Linked DNA regions of Homo sapiens: all the other regions are linked to region 3. Evidence: promoter capture Hi-C in 16 types of primary human blood cells and fetal thymus (Javierre and others, 2016). All regions are on one chromosome and are shown on one strand. Each heading gives the region's core, a stretch centred on a gene start or on the middle of the fragment in contact. The rest is flanking DNA. Distances are from core to core; before and after follow the strand shown.

Evidence for each region. The method cuts DNA at HindIII sites, captures the fragments that hold promoters and counts their contacts. A CHiCAGO score of 5 or more calls a contact.
Region 1: a fragment that was not itself captured here is called in contact with the fragment with the promoter of KRTAP4-4 in region 3 in 1 of 17 cell types (naive CD4 T cells); the score reaches 5.5 in naive CD4 T cells.
Region 2: a contact is called between a fragment that was not itself captured here and the fragment with the promoter of KRTAP4-4 in region 3, in 1 of 17 cell types (naive CD4 T cells). The highest score is 6.2, in naive CD4 T cells.
Region 4: a contact is called between a fragment that was not itself captured here and the fragment with the promoter of KRTAP4-4 in region 3, in 1 of 17 cell types (naive CD4 T cells). The highest score is 5.0, in naive CD4 T cells.
Region 5: a contact is called between a fragment that was not itself captured here and the fragment with the promoter of KRTAP4-4 in region 3, in 1 of 17 cell types (neutrophils). The highest score is 5.6, in neutrophils.
Region 6: a contact is called between a fragment that was not itself captured here and the fragment with the promoter of KRTAP4-4 in region 3, in 1 of 17 cell types (monocytes). The highest score is 5.1, in monocytes.
Region 7: a fragment that was not itself captured here is called in contact with the fragment with the promoter of KRTAP4-4 in region 3 in 2 of 17 cell types (naive CD4 T cells and non-activated CD4 T cells); the score reaches 5.3 in naive CD4 T cells.

The regions. Positions count from the first base shown.
Region 1 is chr17:41,560,470-41,563,633 of GRCh38, forward strand. No RefSeq gene overlaps it. Among named protein-coding and RNA genes, the nearest start is that of LINC00974, 7.6 kb to the left of the region's middle. The HindIII fragment of the contact is 7,476 bases long and covers 1-3,164 here.
Region 2 is chr17:41,451,490-41,454,804 of GRCh38, forward strand. No RefSeq gene overlaps it. Among named protein-coding and RNA genes, the nearest start is that of KRT38, 12 kb to the left of the region's middle. The HindIII fragment of the contact is 1,558 bases long and covers 1,189-2,746 here.
Region 3 is chr17:41,159,289-41,162,282 of GRCh38, forward strand. It overlaps KRTAP4-4 (keratin associated protein 4-4), which reads right to left and starts at 1,460. Exons shown (of 1, transcript NM_032524.2): 1 at 361-1,460. The coding sequence starts at 1,403. The coding sequence ends at 903. The HindIII fragment of the contact is 13,067 bases long and covers 1-2,994 here.
Region 4 is chr17:41,595,247-41,598,587 of GRCh38, forward strand. No RefSeq gene overlaps it. Among named protein-coding and RNA genes, the nearest start is that of KRT14, 10 kb to the left of the region's middle. The HindIII fragment of the contact is 1,482 bases long and covers 892-2,373 here.
Region 5 is chr17:40,887,402-40,890,785 of GRCh38, forward strand. The region is part of intron 1 of LOC105371777 (a long non-coding RNA gene); the gene reads left to right. Among named protein-coding and RNA genes, the nearest start is that of KRT20, 3.9 kb to the left of the region's middle. The HindIII fragment of the contact is 6,046 bases long and covers 1-3,384 here.
Region 6 is chr17:40,861,419-40,864,677 of GRCh38, forward strand. It overlaps KRT12 (keratin 12), which reads right to left. Exons shown (of 8, transcript NM_000223.4): 4 at 2,285-2,446; 5 at 2,067-2,192; 6 at 1,705-1,925; 7 at 1,147-1,217; 8 at 1-340. The coding sequence ends at 243. The region is part of intron 1 of LOC105371777 (a long non-coding RNA gene); the gene reads left to right. Among named protein-coding and RNA genes, the nearest start is that of KRT12, 4.2 kb to the right of the region's middle. The HindIII fragment of the contact is 1,078 bases long and covers 1,356-2,433 here.
Region 7 is chr17:41,503,384-41,506,481 of GRCh38, forward strand. It overlaps KRT13 (keratin 13), which reads right to left and starts at 2,229. Exons shown (of 8, transcript NM_153490.3): 1 at 1,673-2,229; 2 at 260-342; 3 at 1-60. The coding sequence starts at 2,167. The HindIII fragment of the contact is 1,600 bases long and covers 602-2,201 here.

The DNA.
Region 1 (3,164 bases), core at 397-2,896, 400 kb after region 3:
GGTATGGACAGCAGAAGCAGCGTGGCTCTGCAACTCCAGCTGAGTCCAGAATTAGTGCAGAATGGACTCAGAAGGCTCCAATCTGACTTGGTGGTTTCATGGTCTTGGCAGAGGCAACAACTCCTTTGGCAGATCCACTCTGCTTTGTCATTTGGAGGGTTCTGGAAAAATCACCCTAGATTCTGTTTCTCCAGCCCTCCTAATGATTCTCTAAGGTATCTAGAGCTCTTGAAAATCCCTTACTTGTTAAAATAGGCAAAGTAGTTTCTGGTAGTTGCAATTGAGAATCTAACCAATATAGAGATCAGATGACAAATGGAGTTTTAGCCCAAGTTTGCTTCTCATGAGCCCAGTGGTATCCCAGACCAATCCTGTGGTTATTTCCCAGTGTCTGGAGTGGACTAGACATAGTCAGTAAAAGGATCCTGATCCTTACCAGTAAGGATTACGTGGTTTAGAAAAAGGACCAGCAACACTACATCTCTAAGGGAATGACAGAGATTAGTGCCACATGAAAGATTTGATGGGCCAGGAGTGGTGGCTCATGCCTGTAATCCCTGCACTTTGGAAGGGCAAGATGGGGAGAGAACACAGGAATGTAAGATCAGCCCTGGCAATAGAGTGAGATCCCTGTCTCTAGTTTAAAAAAAAAAAAAAAAAAAAAAAAAACCTCAAAAATTAGTCTGGCGTGGTGGCACACGCTTGTAGTCCCAGCTACTTGGGAGCCTGAGGTAGGAGGATTGCTTGAACCTGGGAGGTCAAGGCTTCAGTGAACTGTGATTGTACCACTGCCCACCGGCCTGGGCAACAGAGAGAGACCCTGTCTCAAAAAAAAAATGATAAATTTAGGGTTAACTTGCCTAGTTTTTCTGTGCAGAACATGAACAGATGTTAGAGAATAGCCATGAATTATTTTACAATTTATCACATGGTTGTTCCAACAGCAGTCGTTGATCCAGATTGTGTCCCTTTTCTAAAGCAGATCACCATTGACCCTGGCACCTGCTGTGGGAAATTCTTTTTTCTTTATCCCAATAAACAAAGAGTACCAGAATAAATATGCTTTCACCTGCAGAGAAAGCAACACGGTCATTCCCCTTATCCATGGTTTCGCTTTCCACAGCTTCAGTTACCTGTGGTCAACTGTCATCCAAAAATATTAAATGGAAAATTCCAGAAATAAACAATTTGTCAGTTTTGAAGTGTGCTGCCCTGAAGAGCATGATGAAATCTCACACTGCCCCACTCTGTCCAGCCCAGGACAGGAATCATCCCTTTGTCCAGCTCTCCATGCTCTATGCACCACCCACCCACTAGTCGTCGCTTAGTAGCTGTCTCAGTTGTCAGATCAACTGTTGCAGTATTGCCGTGCTTGTGTTCCCTTATTTTACTTAATTACGACCCCAAAGTGCAAGAGCAGTGATGCTGATAATTCAGATTTGCCAAAGGGAAGCCACAAAGTGCTTTTTTTTTTTTCTTAAAAGGAGTTTTGCTCTTGTTTCCCAGGCTGGAGCACAATGGCGTGATCTCGGTTTACCTCAACCTCTGCCTCCCGGGTTCAAGCGATTCTCCTGCCTCAGCCTCCCAAGTACCTGAGATTACAGGCATGCGCCACCATGCCTGGCTAATTTTGTATTTTTGGAAGAGACAGTGTTTCTCCATACTGGTCAGGCTGGTCTCAAACTCCTGACCTCAGGTGATCCTCCAGCCTTGGCCTCCCAAAGTGCTGGGATCACAGGCATGAGCCACCGCGCCCAGCCAGCAAAATGCTTTCTTTAAGAGAAAAGATGACAGTTCAAAACTTACTACGGAAAGAAAAAAACCATACGCTGAGGTTGCTAAGATCTACAGTATGATAAGATATTTTGAAAGAGAGAGACCACATTCAAATAATTTTTATTACAGTATATTGTTATAACGATTCTATTTTATTAGTTATTGTTGTTAATCTCTTGGTCTGCCTAATTTATAAAGTAAACTGTATCTTAAGTATGAATGTGTAGGAAAAAGCATAGTGTAGATAGATTTAGGTGCTATCCACAGTTTTGGGCATCCAGTCAGGATCTTTGAATGTATTCCCTGTGAAATAATGAGCAACTACTGGGCATCTTTTCCAGGATGTGCAGAGAATCAAACTTGGAGGGTATGCAAACAGAAAAATTCCCCAAATCACACTCAAGGATTGCTCTAGGAACACACCACTGCTGTCACTTCTGGCCACCAAAATTGAAGCTCAAACTATGGATGATGGGCACTGCATGTCTTTGCCAGAGCCGCTGCTATTGCTTCCTCAAAAAATCACATATCTCTGCCCAACCTTGTTCCTGCCATAAAAAATTCCACTCAGCACCTCCTTTAAATCAAAATCAAAGTCCTTCACTCCAATGGGGTGCCATGGTTAAAAAAAAAAAAAAAACGTCTTGTGCGGGCGCACCTGAGTGGCAGGGCTGTCAGGGGCCCATGCCCTAGATGCAGGTGAGCTCGGAAAAGCAAGTTTCTGACCTCTCCCTTGGGGAGCTTCACACTTAAGGTGGAGAATTTCCCAAATTGAGGTAGAGAAAAGATACATAAAATGGGCCAGGCCTTGTGGCTCACACCTGTAATCCCAGCACTTTGGGAGGCCGAGGCAAGTGGATCACCTGAGATCAAGAGTTCAAGACCAGTCTGGCCAACATGGTGAAACCCCCGTCTTTACTAAAAATACAAAAATTAGCTCAGCGTGGTGGCAGGTGCCTGTAGTTCCAGCTACTCAGGAGACTGAGGCAGAAAATCGCTTGAACCCGGGAGGTAGAGGTTGGATTGAGCTGAGATCGTGCCACTGCATTTCAGCCTGGACGACAGAGTGAGACTCCGTCTCAAAAAATAATAATAATAATAAATAAAATAAATAAAAAGATATGTAAAATGGTAGATGAGGAAGACAGCAGGTAGCAGAAAAAGAACCAGAGAAGAGTAAACAGTTGCATATTAACAGCGGAGCGCTAGAAAAGAGATCACAGACTCTCACTGCTCAGGTGTCTTGCTAGAGCCACCTTTGACCCAGAGACACTGATGACCTGCCTGCTCCCATATCCACAAATTCCAGGATCTTGAATCCCCCTGGGTTTCTGTGTCACTTCATTCCCTAAGTGTACTCTTACATAACCCCTCTGCCAGTGATTTGA
Region 2 (3,315 bases), core at 718-3,217, 290 kb after region 3:
AAAATAAACCTGTCTTTGACTGTTGAGCCACTTTTCATGTTTCTTTCTTCTTTCTTTAACTCTTACACAATTAATACTACATGCTTAGGTAGAATGTGGTTTGGGTCTCAATGCCATCCTATGCCAGGTGTACCTTTGAGCAAGTTTCTTTCTCTGAGCCTCAACATCCTCATCTGTAAAATGAGGGTAACAATTCTTAGCTCACAAGGTTGTTGTGAAGATGGAATAAACTACATTCAGCACTTTGGTGTAGTCTTAAACATTGTGAACACTCACTAATGCCACTGTGACTGTTGAGACCTAACCCTGTCCTTCAGGAGCTGACTTAATTCTTGATTAGGGCTCAATCTTAATCAAACACATCTTAAATTACCCCTAAAATTCTTTGGGACTGAATCTTTTTATTAATACTTCTTAGGTTGGTGGAAACATTTCCTTGGAGGGATTCTTTTCAAAGGCTGCCCCTCCTTTGCTTCCTCCACAGAGACCTGTACCTGACACGAAAGAGATGGACAGAGTACCAGGGAGCAGCAGTTCCCAGCTCCTGTCAGACTCTCTCTGTCCTAAAGTTGTCACAGCTATTTTCACATTGTCCACCTGGACAGCCAACCAAGCATTCCCTACCCTCCTGGGTGAGATCTGAGAATGAGAAACACCATGCTTCACAAGGATGCTCTCCATGGAATTCTCCCCAGGCCCTAAAATGAATGAAAAAAAATGTGATCTGAGCCACATGGGGACGTTTCCATCTTTCCTTATGGTGGATTTTTAAGCATCAAGTATCCAAGGGTTTGCTCCCATCTGTAACGAAACTAGCTGCGCTCTGGGATACAGATGGGGTTTCACTTCTCACTCTACTGTGGGCTCCATTGGTCAGGTCTGGGCAGCAGTGAGGGGGTTGAAGGGATAGCCCCTTGGACTGAAACCCAGCTCTGCACAGCCAAGACATGCTTCTGGTTCACTCACCCTCCCTTTTTCTCCTCATCCACTTCCTCAAAGGCACCAACACAGTGGTTAAGTGGACCTGTGTCACGCAGCTTGGCAGTTTACCAGCTCTGAGACTTTAGGCATAGCTTCTAACCCCCTGAAGCTTAAAATCTTCCCATCTGTAAAATGGAAAACGTGATTCTATCTGCTTCATCAAATCCTTGTAAGGATTAAATGCAACCAAGCATATATGTTTAGCAAAGCTTCTGACATCTAGTGAGCTCTTAATAAAGGTGCTCTATTCTTTTTAGATAAAATAGAAATAATAATATCCACCTTAGAGGATTGCTGAAATGGTTCAAAGAAAAAAGGTATGTGAAAATTCCCAGTTCAGGTTTGACATTTAGTAGAATCAAGGATGATTTCAGAAATATTATAACCACTGTTGGCAGCAATCTAAAAGGAGATGTGGAAACGGCCACAGAGACAGACTGCTACATCCCAGCTGAATATCAGCACTTAATGGAAAATACTAAATAAATGTGATTAATTTTTTAAAAATGAAGTTAGGTTGTTCATCCTTTCCACCATCTTGTACAGAACAGGAACTCCAAAACAAATAGAAAGATGAGAATGCCACAAGAGACGTTCAGATATGCGGCTGTGGGTTATTCCATGGAAGGCAAAATCCATCCCAGGGGGATTAGCTTCTAGAGAGGATTCCAGGAGGTGGGGAATATCACCTGGGTTTTGAAGCCCAACTAGAATTTGGCCATGCAAAGATGAGAAAGAAAGCACTACACATGTGAACAAACATTTTGTGAGTGACAACGCAGTTTGACAGAAGCATAGGGCAAGTGACAAAGCAGTTTGATAGAAGCACAGGATGTTTGCAGAAGATTAGAAAGAGGTAAGCTACAAAAAAAAGTGAGGCTGAGAACATGGCAGCCTTGAATGCCAGGCTAAAGAGCTGAGGCTTCATTTTGTAGGCACTGTCTGCTCCCCAGCACCCAGCGATGCAATCACTCATTGCTGGTGCTCAATAACTAGTGAGTGAATGGTGGCATGTCCTTAAATAAGGCAGGATCTGGATTGTGAAGAAATAAATCCATATCCCACTCACAGTCCTCTCATTGCAGACATCAGCAATGATGCTTGTTGAATGGAACTGGTTGTAGAACCAAGTGGTTGGGCCCTTGACATCACAGTTTATTTCTGGCACCTTCAATCCATCTTTATGAACATTCATGGACTGTCATCCCCCCAGGCAACCCCTCCAATTCTCCCATCACCAATCCTCAGCCCTCTCTTTCCATGCCACTGACACCAGAGCTCAAGGCCTCATCTTACTTTTTGTTGGAGCTCCTTAATGGTCTCAAAGTGTGAGCAGTAATTGGAGCATATGTCAGGGCACTGCCGTTTGCTCCACTGCTGGCTCTCAGCACCACCCCTGCTTCTCATTCTCCTGCTCCAACTGCTGCAACTTCTGCAAGCAGTTGGCCAGGCACTCACTTAAGAACTGCATGATCCCTTTCCCACTGCTGCTGAGGATGTCTTCACTGAACCAGCCACAGGTGCCCATACTGGCAGGGATGTTCCTGGTCCCTGGCAGAGGACAGGCAGAGTGACTGCTGGCAGGGCCAGGCTGGACTGACTGTGAGCCACAGGTTCTAAGGAGATGGCTACTAGGTTGGTGACTCTCTTACAGGTGGGCCCCAGTCTTAATACTGGGATCTACAGACATTGGGTACAGAGTTTCTAGAGTGGTTTCTGGCCACAGCCTGTCTGGAGCAAGGAGGCTTCAAATGGCTCTTGCCAAAGCTTGAGGAGCAGGGATTTCTGCTTTAACTAGAAGCCATGGTCCTAGACAGTTGAGTTGCAGATTGGTGACAAGGGCCAGGTGCTCAGGTGTGAGTGTTTCCTCACCCAGAGCTTTTATTCACCTGCCATAGGAGCAGATGTGATACACAAGCTTTCCCCCAATGAATCCTCATTTGTTCTGCCATCAGAACAACCCATCAGCAGTTATTCAGTCCTCAGAAGTAGCTCCCCACTTTATGAAAGAAAGGGCTGACTTTGGACTTCTTGTTACTGCCTTCTGTTGTGAAAAGAAATGTTAAATGTTTTCTCTTTAGAGATGCCCCATTGAAAAGTTAGACTTTGTTCCTTGAGTGACTATCTGGCCTCTCTCTAGGAATGGCATTGGCTCTAAGATGAATCGTCCTCTCCACTGACCTTCAATACCCAAAAAAGTAAAATTCTCTGATAAGAGCCTCAGGAATCCCTAAAGAGCAATAGAGCAAAGACTGCTAAGTTATTAGAACTAAAGAAAACTTCCAAGTACTAATTCAACCTTTCGTGCTTCAGAGACCAGAGAAGGACAGTGAG
Region 3 (2,994 bases), core at 210-2,709:
AGCCCTGTAGGTAGCTGGAATTTGGTGTCTCTGAGGACCACTGACATGCTGGTACAACATGCTCCCAACTGGAGGAGAAATAACTAAAGCATGTGTTCACCAACTCTCACTCATTTGTTGAATACTATTCCAAGAGGCTTTAACTCTACAGTCCAGAGCTTGCTCCTTGGCTAGAGAAACTCTTCAAGAAGAGAGTTCCAGGTGCTTGCTCTAAGAAACCACCATTGTATATTAGAATAAAGTGTGCTGAGGAAATAGAGGTGGTGCCCCTGAAATTACATTCTGCAGAGAAGAACAACAGAAAAATTGACTGGTAATTGACCACACTCAAAAAAGAAAAATAATGAGACACAGTATCTGTATATTTCTATGCCTGAAAATTTATTTAAGATTTATTTAGATAAATATTTGTTTAAAATGGAATAGCTCCATATGAGAAATTATGGCAGAGAGCAAATATTTCAATTAAGATAGTTGACAGATTTCAGAGCAAATTACAACTTATGTTCATTTGGTAGAGAGGTAAAATGTGGGGGGAGCATATATTTGGAGGCCAGATTCAATCTAAGAATTGGTTGGAACTGAAGTTTTCCAACTAGCTTCCCATAACTCAGCTCATAGATGAGCTACATCAAGAATGCTGGTTGATGAGAATCTGGTGAGTCCAGATGACAGCCTCAGCAGCAAGAAGCACTAGAGCAGGTTGGGCGGCAGCACATGGTCTGGCAGCAGTTGGGGCGGCAGCAACTGGAGATGCAGCAGGAGAGCCTGCAGCAGCTGAAGCCACAGCAGGAGGAGCTACTGCTGCTAGAGATACTGCAGGAAGGCTGGCAGCAGCTGGAAATGCAATAGCTGGGGTGGCAGCAGGTGGTCCTGTAGCAGGTGGTTTGCCAGCAGATGGGCTAGCAGCATAGAGACTGGCCACAATGGGGCCTGTAGCACCTGGACACACAGCAGCTGGGGCGGCAGCAGGTGGTTCTGCAGCAGGTGGTCTGGCAGCACTGGGGTCTGCAGCAGCTGGACACACAGTAGCTGGGGCAGCAGCAGGTGGGCTGGCAGCACACAGACTGGCAGCACTGGGGCCTGCAGCAGCTGGGGCGGCAGCAGGTGGTCCTACAGCAGGTAGTCTGGCAGCATTGGGGTCTGCAGCAGGTGGGCTGGCAGCACACAGACTGGCAGCACTGGGGTCTGCAGCAGCTGGACACACAGCAGCTGGGGTGGCAGCAGGTGGTCCTGCAGCAGGTGGTCTGGCAGCACTGGGGTCTGCAGCAGCTGGACACACAGCAGCTGGGGCGGCAGCAGGTGGTCCTGCAGCAGGTGGTCTGGCAGTAGCTGGGACGGCAGCAGTTCTCTAGGCCACAGCCCTGGTCAGAGCACACAGAGCCACAACAGGAGTTGACCATGGTGTCAGAGGGTGGAGGTTCTGGGTGGGTTTCCAGGAAGGAGGGTTTGGAAGGCTTGGAAGTCTCCTTGCCCCAGATCCTCTTTTATACCCTGCTCAGGGCTGATGTCATCGGATGCAGCACTCTTTCCTTGTCATTGTTTGTTCTGATGAGCAGGCAATTATCAAATTAGGCAAGTTTGTTTTTCTGCTTAAATTTGTCAACATGGAGAAAAGCATTATTTCCTTCCCCTGGTGTGTTAGGATTCTTCAGGTCAGCTCTTCTTGAACAACCTCTTGTGTGCCTCTTGCTGCAGCTTCCTCCTTGAGCTGCCATGTGACATCTGCCTGCAGGTACCATGTGCTGCAGCCTCATTTTCCTTAATACATTATGTCTGACCTTGGGTGATTTTAATTCTTCTAGGCCCGTAATTTTCTTTTGGTGACTCAGGAGGAGAAAGCTGTGCTTTAATCTCATGGCATGTTTGTTATAGATCAAGTGAGCAATGAAGGTTTGAATGTGAAACAGGTGACCAGTGGCATGAAAACAAATACTATTAGGATATATTCCTTGCCACCTTCCATACAATGAATCATGACCCATTTTCTAGATGTTCTACTGGGGAAAGCAGAATTGTTTTAAGGTGGACATCTAAGTCATGAATTATCGATGCTTCTTTTTCTTGAGAAACAACACTCCAAAACTCAGTTTCAGGGCCTTTAGGGGAAATTGGCTACAGAGATCAGCTATACTAAAAGGTTCAGGTCCCTCCGCTCTCTGCTCTGAGGGGCTGATTTTCCTTCTGACTTTTCCTTCCTGTCTCTCTGGCTTTAACAATCACATTGAGTCATCTCCTCTATTTCTAAGGTTTACTTGCCAACCTAAGGTAAAGGACCCAGTGTCCTTGCTATATATATATAATATATATATATATATATAATATATATTATATATATACATATATATACTATATATAGTATACACACACACGTATATACACACTATATATAAATATACACACTATATATAAATATGCACACTATATATAAATATACACACATACACACACATATATGTGTGTGTATGTATGTGTGTGTATGTGTGCGTGTGTGTGTGTATATATATATATATATATATATATACACACACACACGCACACATACACACACATTATGTCTGACCTTGGGTGATTTTAATTCTTCTAGGCCCATAATTTTCTTTTGATGTATATGTATATATATATATACACTCACACACACACAGGTTTGGGGGAATATATATATTCTGCCAAAGGACCTTAGGAATATATATATATATTATACATATATAGATGGGTAGATAGAGAACCTTATATATAGGTAATATAGGAATATATATATTTACATATTTATGAATATATAATATATATTCTTCATATATGTTTGTATTTAATAGTATGTATAAATATATATATAATATATACAATAACATATTTAGAAATATATATATTTATATATATATGTATTTACCTTTATCTCCTAAGGCCCTTTACCTTAGGAATATTATGCACACACACACACACACACACTCAAACACACACACACACACACTCCCCCAAACCTGGATGTTAAAG
Region 4 (3,341 bases), core at 383-2,882, 440 kb after region 3:
AGGGTCCTAAGCTGGTGAGTGATGCTGTCGGATGTTTCACAAAGGCCACCCTGGTCTCCATGCAGAACATACTTTGCCGTGGTGTGGGGGACCAGTAGGGAGAATTTGCCATATCCAGGTAAGGGATGTTGTTGGCTCAGACCTCTCCTCTCCCAGGAAGCCCCACCCCATCAGCTCAGGTCACCTGGCTTTCTCCCCATCTCTCAGACCTCCCACTGCCTCTGTGATCTGTGCCCCCACCCTTGATTATACCTCCCCATAGTGCCTTAGGGGGCCACAAAGTGTTTTTCACATAGTCAGTCCTCAGTGTTACTCTGGTCTGATGCAGGAGACACAACCCTTGCCCGTGGGCTGTCCAGTCTGATGGAGGAGGGTTGCAGAGCCCAGAGTTTTCCCTGTGCCATAGGCTGAGGGGAGCCAGGAGCACAGGAGCCACAAGGTGGGGTGGATTAGCACACAGAAGTTTTCTTGGAAAGGGTGCGCTTTGACTCAGGTTTTGAAAGAAGGAAGAACCCTGGAGGGTGGAGTGGGGAGAGGGCGTGGCTGTGGGAACTCCAGCACAGTGGTGAGTTGCGGGGAGAGTCAGCACCTGGGAGTCGGAATGTCTGTGTCAGGAGTCCTGAGCTCTGGTCGGCAGGACAGAGGGAAAGGGAAAGAGGAAGGGAAGGGGTCGCCGAGTAGTTCTAGCCTCATGGATAGAAAGAGTCATTTCCCACAGTCAGAGATGTGGGAACAGATTCAGCATCTTGCACCCCACCTCCCTCCCCCAGACGGGATACCGCATGGGATCAAGGAAGGAGCAGGGCCTCCCGATCAGAAAGACCAGCTTTCAAGTCTTGGCTCCATCACTGACGAGCCATGTGACCTTGGACAGGCCATTGCAGCCGTCCAAGCTTTGGTTTTCCATCAAATAGGAATAGAACCAGTTCAGCCTGGCAGGATTATTGAGAGGAGTGGGTAAGTCAGCGCAGGTGGCCAGCATGGTACTGGGCACAGAGGAAGTGTTTGGTAAAAGTTCACTTAAATTAAGCCCAAGTTAGACCAAAGGGAGTGGGGGATGCAAATGGAGAACAGGTGTCAAGGTTCAGCCAAAGACCTTGAGGCAGAGAACAGAGAAGAGTCCAGGATGTTACTGGAGCTCCTGTTGCAGGAGCTGGGAGCTGCTGAGGTCAGCCGGCCAGGTGATGGGCTGGTGAGTCTGCAAGGGCCTGGCCAGGGTGGAGGCTGTGGGAATAGGGCAGGCCTGGAAACTGATGAGGAAGAGTCAGCGGATGGTTTAGGTGTGAGGGGAGAAGGCCTGGGAGCTTCCAGCAGGGCCCACATTCTGTGGCTGGAATGAGGGGATGGGGAAGCAGCCTCTCAGGTTTCAATGAGGCCATCCTGGTTGTCAGTGCAATATTTGCAAAAAAATGACCATTTCTGTCTCCCAGTTCCAAAAGAGGGCATGGATGGCTTATGATAAAAGACATATTTATAATAAAACTAAAAATATCCAGCAAGGATAGAAGAAAAATAAATCAAGAATTAGGTAACAGGATATATTGATGGGCACATTTTGGTTGCAAGCAACGGAAACTCAGCTTGAATTAGCTTCTAAAAGAGGCAATTCAGGGCTGGGCATGGTGGCTCACACCTGTAATTCCAGCGCTTTGGGAGGCTGAGATAGGAGGATCACTTGAGCCCAGGAGTTCAAGACAAGCCTGGGCAACATAGTGAGATACCATCTCTACAAAAATAAATAAATAAAATAATTAGCCAGGCATGGAGGCATACACCAGTAGTCCCAGCAACTCAGAAGACTGAGGTGGAAGGATTGCTTAAGCCCCAGCAGGTCAAGGCTGCAGTGAGCCATGACCACAGCACTGCACTCCAGCCTGGGTGGCAAAGTGAGACTCCATCTTAAAAAAAAAAAAAAAAAGACAATCAATAAAACAATAAATCAAGCCCCAATTTATAACATTTATTTTTTTCGTGTTGTAAATACCCCCACTGTGGCCAATTTCAAGCAACCAACAGGGAGTCACTTAACACAGGGTTGGGAAGAGACGTGCAGTAGCTCACTGCCTTATAGCATGTCCACCATATGGATAAAATGGTCATAAGTACCTCAAGAGCACAGATATTAGTACAATGTAGTAAAATAATTTGGAAGGAATGAGTTTTCAGTATGCATTACCTTTGTTCTCAATATAATTCATTTAATTTTAAGTTCGTATAATTTAATTTTTGATGAGGGCCATATTTAACAATCACCTTGCAAAATTCCTGAAATTTTAATGTCCAGCTCTCAAGAGCCAGCATGAGCCAGCTCCAGCGTGCCAATGAGCCTCGAGGTTTAGGCCATAAGCAAGAGACTAGGAGGGACAAAGGGAAAGCTTCTGGATAAAACAAAGTGAAAGAGGGAAAACCAGATTGGGGGAGGATATTGGTGAGGGAAGGGGAAGAAGAGTTGGTGGGCCCCCACGGTCAGGGAGACAGCCTAGGTGGACAGGAGCAGAGGCAGCATCCAGAGGCTGTGCAGCCTTCACAAGGCAGACCAGGCACTGTCTGCCTCCCAGGGAGCCACATGGGAGCCCCATGGGGGTATCCAAGTCTGTGCTGCCTCGTTATCTCAATTATCTCATCAGTGTTCTGTTGGTTGTTCTCTCTGTCAGCATCTAGCGAGGACTGTTCTACTGCAGCACTCAGTGTGCATCTGTCCTTTGACTGTCCCAGCTTGAGTGATGTCTGTGTGTCCCAAGACTTTGGTTACTCCCCATCTAACTTAACCCATATGAGCAACACCCCCTTCAAAGAACTGGAGGAGTGATTGGGGGAAAGGAAATGATGGTGCTGGGGGTGTTGGAGGTACTGGAGGTAGTGGTGGTGGTGGTGGTGGTGGTGGTGATGGAGATGGAGATGGTGGTAATGATGGTGGTGATTGTGGTGGTCATGGTGGTGATGGTGGTAGTGGTAATGGTGGTGATGATGTGGTGGTGGTAGTGGGGGTGGGGGTGGTGATGGTGGTAATGATGGCAGTGATTATGGTGGTGATGGCAGTGATGGTGGTAGTGGTGATGGTGGTGGTGATGGTGGTGGTGGTGGTAGTGGTGGTGGGGGTGGTGATTTCAGTGGTGGTGGTGGTGGTGGTAGTGGTGGTGGGGGTGGTGATTTCAGTGGTGGTGGTGGTGGTGGTGCAGGGGCGAGTGGTGATGGTGGGGGTGATGGTGGTGGGGCGTATTGGTGTGGTGCTGGTGATTGTGGTGGTGATGGTAGGGATGGTGGTAGTGGTGATGGTAGTGATGGTGGTGGTGGGGCTGTGGGGGTGGTGATGGTGGGGATGATGGTGGTGGGGGTATTGG
Region 5 (3,384 bases), core at 513-3,012, 270 kb before region 3:
CATTTTATTTTTATTTTGAGACAGGGTCTCACTGTGTGACCCAGGCTGGAGTGCAGTGACACAATCACAGCTCACTGCAGCCTTGACCTCCCAGGCTCAAGTGATCCTCCTGCTTCAGCCTCTCAAGTAGCTGGGACTACAGGCACACACGCCATGCTTACATAATTTTTATTTATTTATTTTTGGTAGAAACAGGGTCCCACTATGTTGCCCAGGCTGGACTCAAACTCCTGAGCTCAAGTGATCCTCCCACCCCACCCTCCCAAAATGATGGGATTACAGGTGTGAGCCCCTGTGTCCAGCCGTTTTTTTTTTTTTTTTTTTTTTTTTTGAGACGGAGTCTTGCTCTGTCACCAGGCTGGAGTGCAGTGGCATGATCTCAGCTCACTGCAACCTCCCCCTCCCCGGTTCACACAATTCTCCTGCCTCAGCCTCCCTAGTAGCTGGGATTACAGGTGGGCACCACCACGCCGAGCTGATTTTTGTATTTTTAGTAGAGATGGGGTTTCACCACGTTGGCCAGCCTGATCTTGATCCCTTGACCTTGTGATCTGCCTGCCTCAGCCTCCCAAAGTGCTGGCATTACAGGCGTGAGCCACTGCACCCGGCCCAGCCAATTTTTTTCTTTTTTTTGAGAAATAACTTTGTCTATATCTTATTCCAGAAATCTTTGGCTAGTTTTGGTAAGTTTTTGAGGTTTTAAATTTAAACTAAAATATGATACAATAGTGTCATCATTATGAGGTATAGTCATTCAATCTACCAATTTGTTGGAGTAGAAAAAATTCTACTGGAAAGCCTCCCACCTGTTTATATAAGGGCAGGAGAATTTGCTGGCTTCTCTATATCACTGAGTTTTGTACTTTTGTAGATTATTCGATCTTATAATGTGACCACAGGAAATCAAGTGAGTTTTTCACAGCAATTCATTTTTCTGAGTTATATCTCGAGGACTGAGTAAAGATCCTATTGACCCTTGTTCATACACAAAGTCATGAATTTAGAGACCCTGGTATTTCAGGCTGTTGGGTGACTGCAGCTGTAAATAAATACTTATTAGATCCCAACTTCCTTGTAGCTAGTAGGAGATACATTTTGACTTCTGAGACACTCTACTGAGAGTGTTAATGATTAATATTAAGTATGGCCAGTAGTTGGGAAGGCTATTATAAGCACTACAGTTTTCAGAGGGCTTTCAACTTTTTTCTTTTTTTTTGTATTCTACCATGACCAAGCTATTGCAATCACATATGATAGACATAGAACCTGCAGTCTCTGGAGTGGCATCTTGTTCAGACAGGGAGAAGGAGGGTGGAAGTATGGATGAAGGAAGTTTTGCCCTGAGTTATTTGTTGAAGCGAGGAGATGGGTACAAGGAGGTTGATGTATAGTAAACTTACATCATTGTATTCTGCACAGTTAATCAGTCATATTTAGGTTTTTGTTTGTACTTATTTGGTAATTCTCAGCTGTGTTTTGATGAGTTGGATGGATTTATTTATTGTCTCATAGTGGCTATAGAATGATTGGATGAAGAATATAAATATAAATTGTTTTAGAAAATAAAACAAACTTAAAATTGGAGCAAGTACCAAGCAGATCTGAAATACAAACCAGAGGAAATAAATAATGCCGTTAAAATTACAAGTTCAGTGGATGGATCCAGGAACAGATTAAGCCAGGATTATTGAACAAAATGTAGCTCTGAGGAAAATTTCCAGAATGCAGCTAAGTGACGAAGGAGGAAGTCAAGAAGGCATGAAGGCTATAATTAGAAGGTCTAAATATGTCTAATCAGAGTTCCAGAAGAAGACACAAGAGAATAAGAAAACATTCAACAAAATAAAAAGTGAGAATTTTATAGAATTCTTTAAAAAAAACCCAAGTTCTCAGATTAAGGAGACCTAATGAATTCCAGGCAAAAGGAATAAAAATAAATCACTACACACATTGAGGCAGAAAACCAGATAATTACAAGCAGATAGAGAATAAATCACCAACAAAGGAATGGTGGTTAGACTGATGACTGACTCCTCAAAAGCAACAATGGACACTGGAAATGGAATAGAATCTTCAATGTGCTGGGAGGAAATAACTGCCATTCCGGAATTTTCTGACTCGGTAACATTATATTTGAAGAAGGGTAAAATAAAGCCATTTTCAACATTTAAAAAACTGAATTTGCCATCAACTTCTAAGTTTTCACTAAGAGCAATCTGAAAGAATGTGTTTTAAGCAGAAGGAAGATGATTCCAGATGAAAGTTCTGAGATGCATAAAAGAATTAAAATAATGAACAAATAGAGTGCTAAGCATGCGACCAAATGTAAATGTAAAGACAAGTATTGGCTATAAAATAATATATCTATTGAGAAGAAAAAACAATATGGAATTAAAGTAGATGAGGGCTGGAAGGGGATGAATGGAGTTAAATTGTTCTAAATTGCGGGACTGTTTAGGAAAACAGCAAACATACAGATTAACTTTAGATATTGACAGGTTAAGAATGCATATTATATTTTCCACACAGGGACACATGGCGGAGAACAACACACACTGGCACCTGTGGTTGGGGGGAAAGCATCAGGAAGAATAGCTAATGGACGCTAGGCTTAATACCTGGGTGTTGGGATGATCTGTGCAGTAAACCACCGTGGCACATGTTTACCTATGTAACAAAACTGCACATCCTGCACATTTACCCCTGAACTTAAAATAAAAGTTGAAGAAAAAAAAGAATGCATATTATGTTTTCTAATTTTATGGTTTTGCCTTTCACATGATGGCTCTTACAATGATCTGGAAATAAGCCAGTGAATTAGCACAAAGAGCTCAGAAACAGATCTGTTGCCTATAGAAACTAATTTTGTACGGCTTGGGCATTTCAAATCAATGAGGAAAGAAATGGAGTATCCCATATTTAACAAATGGCAGTTGTATTTCTGTCTAAGGCAAAATTTACCTAAAATATAAGAAAATGAATTCCAGATTCATTAAAGATAAAAATGTGAAAAGTTAAAAACTATACAACATTTAGAAGAAAACACAGAATAATATCTCTAGGAATTAGAGTAAAGGAGTATTTTTAAACAAGACACAAAAAGTGAAAACTGTGAAGTACAAAATTGATACTGATTTAGCAATTTTTATTCATTAAAATATACCATAATTATAATGAAAAAAGCCTCAAACAGGGAGCAGATATTTAGAAGTCATGTAACTGACAAGCAATTAGTTTCCAGAATATGGAAAATTCCTACAAATCAATAAGAAAAAGAAAAGCATCCCAGTGAGAAAGTGGGCAAAATATGAATAGATTTGCAGAGAAGAGGAAAGCTGAATGGCCCATTCCACATCTGCCAATCGGAAAAATTTAAAAAGTTGG
Region 6 (3,259 bases), core at 645-3,144, 300 kb before region 3:
GGTCCAGAAGGATATAAGGTAATTTTGATTTGTTACAAAGACCAACATGACCAAAATGACTTGTGACTGAATATTGTTTCAGAAGGGCAAAAAGGATTCAATGTGAATAGGGAATCCAAAGAAAATGGAACAGACAAAAATAGGGATTGAAGTAATACAGCATGTTACTCTGAAAGGAATAATTTCTACTTGTAAATTTCTTGTTCCTAAGGAACCAATCATGGGGCAGATCTTGTGAAATTTTACATTAGTTCTTCAATTTCCTGAACTTGAGATGAGACCACCTCACCATTCACCATCTCCTGCACAACTGTCTTGATTTTTCGGGTTTTGGTTGGGTCTAAAGATAAAAATGGAATAAGGGGGCAAGAGTTAGTGTTTCAAATATTAATCCAACACTGGTTGTTTAATGTAGGCTTCTAAATTAAGCATTGGTTGATACAATCCATCTAATTAAACTTTCAAAAGTAAATTTTACTTCTCAAAAATGTGTTTTAGCCAATGACAATGAAATGTATTCAGTGTTGCCTTGTACATATATGAAAACTTTTTTTAAGAAAACATTTCAAAGGTGGTTATGGTGATCATAATACCTTGCAGCAGAGTAGGTTTTTTCCCTTCTGCTTTGCCATTTTTTTTATTTTTTAATTTTAATTTTAATTTTCTTAAAGACAGGGTCTGGCTCTGTTGCCCAGGTAGGAATGCAGTGGCATGATCATAGCTCACTATAACCTCTAACTCCCGGGCTCAAGCGGTCCTCCTGCCTCAGCCTCCAGAGTAGCCGAGATCACAGGTATACACCACCACACCCAGCTATTTTTTTTCTTAAGTTTTTTGTAGAGATGGGGTCTCGCTATTTGCCCAGGTGGGTCACGAACTCCTGGCCTCAAGCGATCCTCCCACCTCAGGTTCCCGAAGCTATGAGGTTACAGGCATGAGCCACCATGCCCAGGCCCCCAAAAGTTTTAATATGGTATAGACTACTCATTTTGTGCAGGAATGCATAAATGTTTTTCCTTGGCTCAGAATATAAATATGCTTTAAATTAAAATTAATAATAATGCAGTAGTCAATGAGGTCTTACAGGTTTTGCATTAATAAATGTGATTCCGACTTATTCTAAGTGATTCTAGGGTTTCTGCATACCTTTAGAGGAATCAGTTGACTGTGCTTGTGATTTGGAGTCTGTCACAAATAAACTTTCCTCCAAACCATCACTGTAAGAAAACAAAGGAGATGACCTCAAAAAGTGAAACAACCTGGCTTTTAATGGAAGATCTGGTCTGAGAAATTAGATTTCCCAATTTGTAGGCCTGAGTTCTTCCAACTAGTGCAGACTCTGATCACTTTTGGAAAGCTTGTTAGAGTAGGTGGTTCAGGTGGCTACTATGTGTCCTTCTTATCATCAGGTCTTTGATATCAGAAATTGAGTAAGTGACTTTTATAGTACAGGGAGTACTCATTTACAAACTGTTTCTGACCGTGGTGCCTTTGTTCTTTGCAGCATTTTATGAATTATCAAGTAAGATAATGGGTGAAAACACTTTGCAAAGTGTAGAGCATTTAGTAAATCCCAGGCATATCTTTACTAGACTTGTGTTTGTTTGTTTGCTTTTCTGTCAACTAAAACCCCATTCCTTCTATTTCTGCTGCCCACTCTTGGTCAGCCCCTGAAGGTGTTTACAGCCTCCGTTGTCTGCTCACCCTTGGGCCTCCCCGTCCAGCAGGCGGCGGTAGGTCTCAATCTCCAGCTCCAGGCGGGCCTTGACATTCAGCAGCCGCTGGTGGTCCACGTTCTGGCGCTCTGCGTCCGCGCGCACCTGGAGCAGCTGTGCCTCCAGGTTGCTGATGAGCTGCTGCACCTGGGACAGCTGCGCGCAGTAATCGCCCTCGGCTTCGGCCAAGGAGTCCTCCAGGGATTTCTTCTGCACGTGGGAGGGAAATGGCATAGAAATAACGATGGAGGGGACCGAAAAGAGGAGGGTAGCCAACGGCTAATGTAATTTGGATGCAGCATTTTCTTTGGAAGTCCAAAGGATGCTACGTCTGTTTGCGCACGAGCCTACCATGGCGAGCTGGGACTGTAGCTCGATCTCCAGGTTCTGAAAGGCGCGACGCAGGTCGGTGACCTCGCTCTTGCTGGACTGAAGCTGCTCGGTGTTGGTGCTAATCTCCTTACGGAGCTCCCCGCTCTGCAACAGCAAAGACAGCCAGGGGGCTCGAGCGCTGAGCTCGTTCGCAGGCCTTTCTGTGAATGTATCAAAGCCTTTGTTGTTTGTGTTACCTTTTCAATGAACCAGGCTTCAGCGTCCTTCCGATTCTGCTCAGCGATGGTTTCATACTGCGCCCGCATATCATTGAGGAGCCTGGTGAGGTCCACTCCGGGGGCAGCGTCCATTTCTACGCTGACCTCGCCTGGGCCGCCCACCCGGAAGCTTTGGAGCTCCTGGGGACAGCATGTGAGAGAGAGGGGCACAGGGGTCCATTGTGACTTTCGTGGGCCCTGGATACTTTTGTCCTCTTGGGCCCCTTCCTACACACACACACACACACACACACACACACACACACACTTAAAAATTCTATCTTATGACTGTTGGTATAAAGACAAATATATTAATGTAATACATTAAAACTTTTTTAACCTCAAAATTCATATTTTTCTTCTGATATTACAAGAACTTAAGACATATTCATGGGTCCCTGAAATTACCACAGACCCTGGGAGCAGTGCCTGCTGTGCCTAATGGGTAAGTTGGCTCTGCTTCTTGAGGGACCACGACCTTCACGTGAAAGGAGGCCTGGCGTACACTCACTGGGGTTTTCACCTACAGCTGCCAAACCGAGGGCTGCAGACAGTACCTGGGCTTGCACGCTGTTTGTGCCACAATCATCGAAAATCTAGTAGAAACTTCCTATTGCCAGCATCCCTTCCCTACCTAGCCTCCAATATGCACCATGGCACCTCAGAGTTTTCTGGTGTGCATTATGCTAAGTATAACCAGTTTCTCTGACATATAAAACATTATATATTATTGGTAGACTTTTGTTTTAACTTTTAAAATACTCAGTCTTTTTAAAATCACTGAATTAGGACTGTTAGCATTCCTATTGTCATTGCCTTATAATGAAAATGACAAAATCAGAAAGTGCCTCAAATTTGTTGAGCCTTAGCAGGAACCACCATCACTACTACCAACACACACACATCACACACACACATACCACACACATCACACAGAAATCTAAAACAAATGGC
Region 7 (3,098 bases), core at 152-2,651, 340 kb after region 3:
CGGCGCAGGCCGTTGATGTCGGCCTCCACGCTCTGGCGCAGGGCCAGCTCATTCTCATACCTAAAATAGTAAAAAAATGAAATGTTTTTTGAAAAAGCAAGACATAAATGATATGAGACATTCTCCCTACCCCTGCACGAGACTCCAGTACTTCCAGACCTTCACTCCTGGGATGCTCCAGTGTCATTGGTCAGATGAGCTTTTGTCTAAACTAAGAGACTCCTGGGAAAGGAGAGGGAGGGGGAAAAAAAAAACTCACTTGAGCCTGAAGTCGTCCGCAGCCAGCCTGGCATTGTCAATCTCCAGGATGACCCGGTTGTTTTCAATGGTGGCGGTCAGGATCTACAAAATGCAGAAGAAGGTAACCTCTAGGGCATGGGTGTCCAGTCTGTTGGCTTCCCTGGGCCACATTGGAAGAAGAATTGTCTTGGGCAACACATCAAATACGCTAACACTAACGATAGCTGATGGGCTAAAAAGAAATTGGCAAAAATAAAAAATAAAAAAAAACTCAATGTTTTAAGAAAGCTTACAAATTTGTGTTAGGCCTCAATCAAAGCTGTCCTGGGCCACATGCAGCCCACCGGCCACAGGTTAGACAAGCTTGCTCTGGGGGGTCCACGTGCTTGAGGAGGTGGCCTGGGAAAACATGGGCAGGACCTGGTTCCCATGGGGCTCTACCTCTAAACTGTCCTGTGAGCTGGGACAAGGCATTTCCCTCTGGGCCTCCATTGCTCTTCTGTAAAGTGAGGAGTGGGGCTGCATCCCCTCCAATCGTTTCTAACACTTTAATATTCCATGTCTGAGCACCCTGGGGGAGATGCAGGGAGTGCATTTCTGAGGAACGACCTGCTGAGAACATCTTTGGTTCGTCATGTCTTGGCAGCCTCAGACTAGCACCCTCCCTAGGCCACTGTCTTGAGATCCATCCCCTGAAAGTCAGGAGGGACTCGGCTTGGTGCCACATATCTCACAATCACTTTGCTAGAGCTGACTTCCCAGCTGAGTGGAGGGGAAATCCAACAAATATTCCCATCCCTTTGAATTTCTTGTCTAAACGTTTATATTCCAAAGCAGTGAAAGCCTGCTCCACATGGCTGAGACTCAGCCCAGGCTGGTAGATTTCTGCTCCAACAGGCTGGTATCACAGCACAACAGACAGGGCTCAACAAAGGGCACCCAGGCTCGGCACTGCCTAAGCCTCTGCCTCTCTCTCCCCCAACTTGGCCATCGCCAGTTGAGAATACCAGTTTGAATGGGTCCCCTACAAAGTAAACAATTATTCCCAGGGCAATGAATGAACACGTCTCTCTTTCTCTGTTGATTTCATGCATTCTTAATGGCTTTTAAACCTGTCATGTTTCCAGATAACTCAGTAGGTTAGGATTATAGAGATCGAGTCATGAATAACATAACTGTCTGGAAAGCAGTAAAAAAACTGACCTGAGTAATAACAATCATAAAAATGAATAATGAGAGAAAATGCATTTGGGGAGTTGTGGCATGAGAAAGCCCATCAGAGGTAGAGACTCTTGGTAGTCAAACAGTAGGCTTTTCCCCTGCAAGAAGTTTGTGAATTCCGTCCACACCTAGTCCCCCACAACACTGTGTTTCTTGGCCTTGGAGGCTCTGCCCTTCATGGAGGACCCCTCCTCAGCTTCCAAGGGCTCACCTTGTCCCGGAGCTCTTCAATGGTCTTGTAGTAGGGGCTGTAGTCCCGCTCAGGGCTAGCTGGGCTCTGCTTCAGGTGCCAGTCACGGATCTTCACCTCCAGGTCAGCGTTGGCCTCCTCCAGGGCGCGCACCTTCTCCAGGTAGGAAGCCAGGCGGTCGTTGAGGTTCTGCATGGTGATCTTCTCATTGCCAGTGAGGAGGCCGCCATCACAAGCACCAAAGTCAACAAAGCCACCAGCAAAACCCCCACCAAAGCCACCTCCAAGGCCACCTCCATAGCCACCTCCAAGGCCACCTCCATAGCCACCTCCAAAGCCACTACCAGCCCCTCCACCAAAACCACAGCTCACGCCGCCTCCATAGCCCCCAGCTGATCCCCCGGACACAAACCGAGTTGAACAGGTAGAGACACCACGGCCTCCTCCCAGCTGGCAAGAGCCACCCCCGAAACCACCTCCATAGCTGGCAGAGGAGCTCTGCAGGCGGAGGCTCATGGTGAGAGCAGGATTGAGAGCAGGTGCAGATAGAAGCTTGCTTGGCCTGGGCCGAGGACTGTGGCTCTTCCCCAGAGTGGACACCTTTTATACACCTCCATAGGGGCTGGTTATCTTCTCTCCTCCCTTCCCCACCCTCTGACTTGGTGCCAACTACACTTCTGTTTCCCACAAGCTTAGTTATCTCTGATCTCTCCAGGGTGGGTTGTGCCTTTTGGGGGTGGCTTTTTTTTTAATCCTTAACAAAAAGAATGATTCAGAGGGGACAGCATTCTGCCTGAGACTGCCCTTTTGACAAGTGAATTCTGTTTCACCTCCACTTAAGGAGTTCACTGTGCAGGCTCTGAGCCCCACCCAGTATTAGAACGGGACCTGAGATGCGGAGGCCTGCCAGGAGCTTCTGCGAGGAAAGTGGTGGGTGCAGAGTGGCTCTGTGCTTTGCAAGGTCACCGTAGCCCTCGACCTTCCTTTTTTCTATACCTAAAACTTCTGACTGGGATGTCCTGGATCCTTCTTAGCACTTCATCTACTCCAGGGGCCCCAGCAACTCTGATGACAAACTTTGCTTGGTTCGATAGAATCACCTGCCTTGAAAGTATTTAGACTGAGAAAGAAATAGCTCCGAGGCCATCAGAAAAAGTCACAGTGACAGAGACCTTAAGGGATCTTAGGGACCATCAGACACAGCTGTGGAAACTCAGGCATGGAAAGAGGAAGTGGCCCTGTCCATTATCATAGCGAATATTCTCCGAGCCCTCACCATAGGCAGGAACTGGGTGAAGTTACTTTACACTCATCATCTCATTTAACCTTCACAGCAGCCACAGGAGGAGGGTCCTACTATTGCCCCCATTTACACATGAGGAAAATGAACCTTAAGGGCAGAATCAGGACTGAAATCCAAGTCTGGTTCTGTCTGACGCTAAGGTGC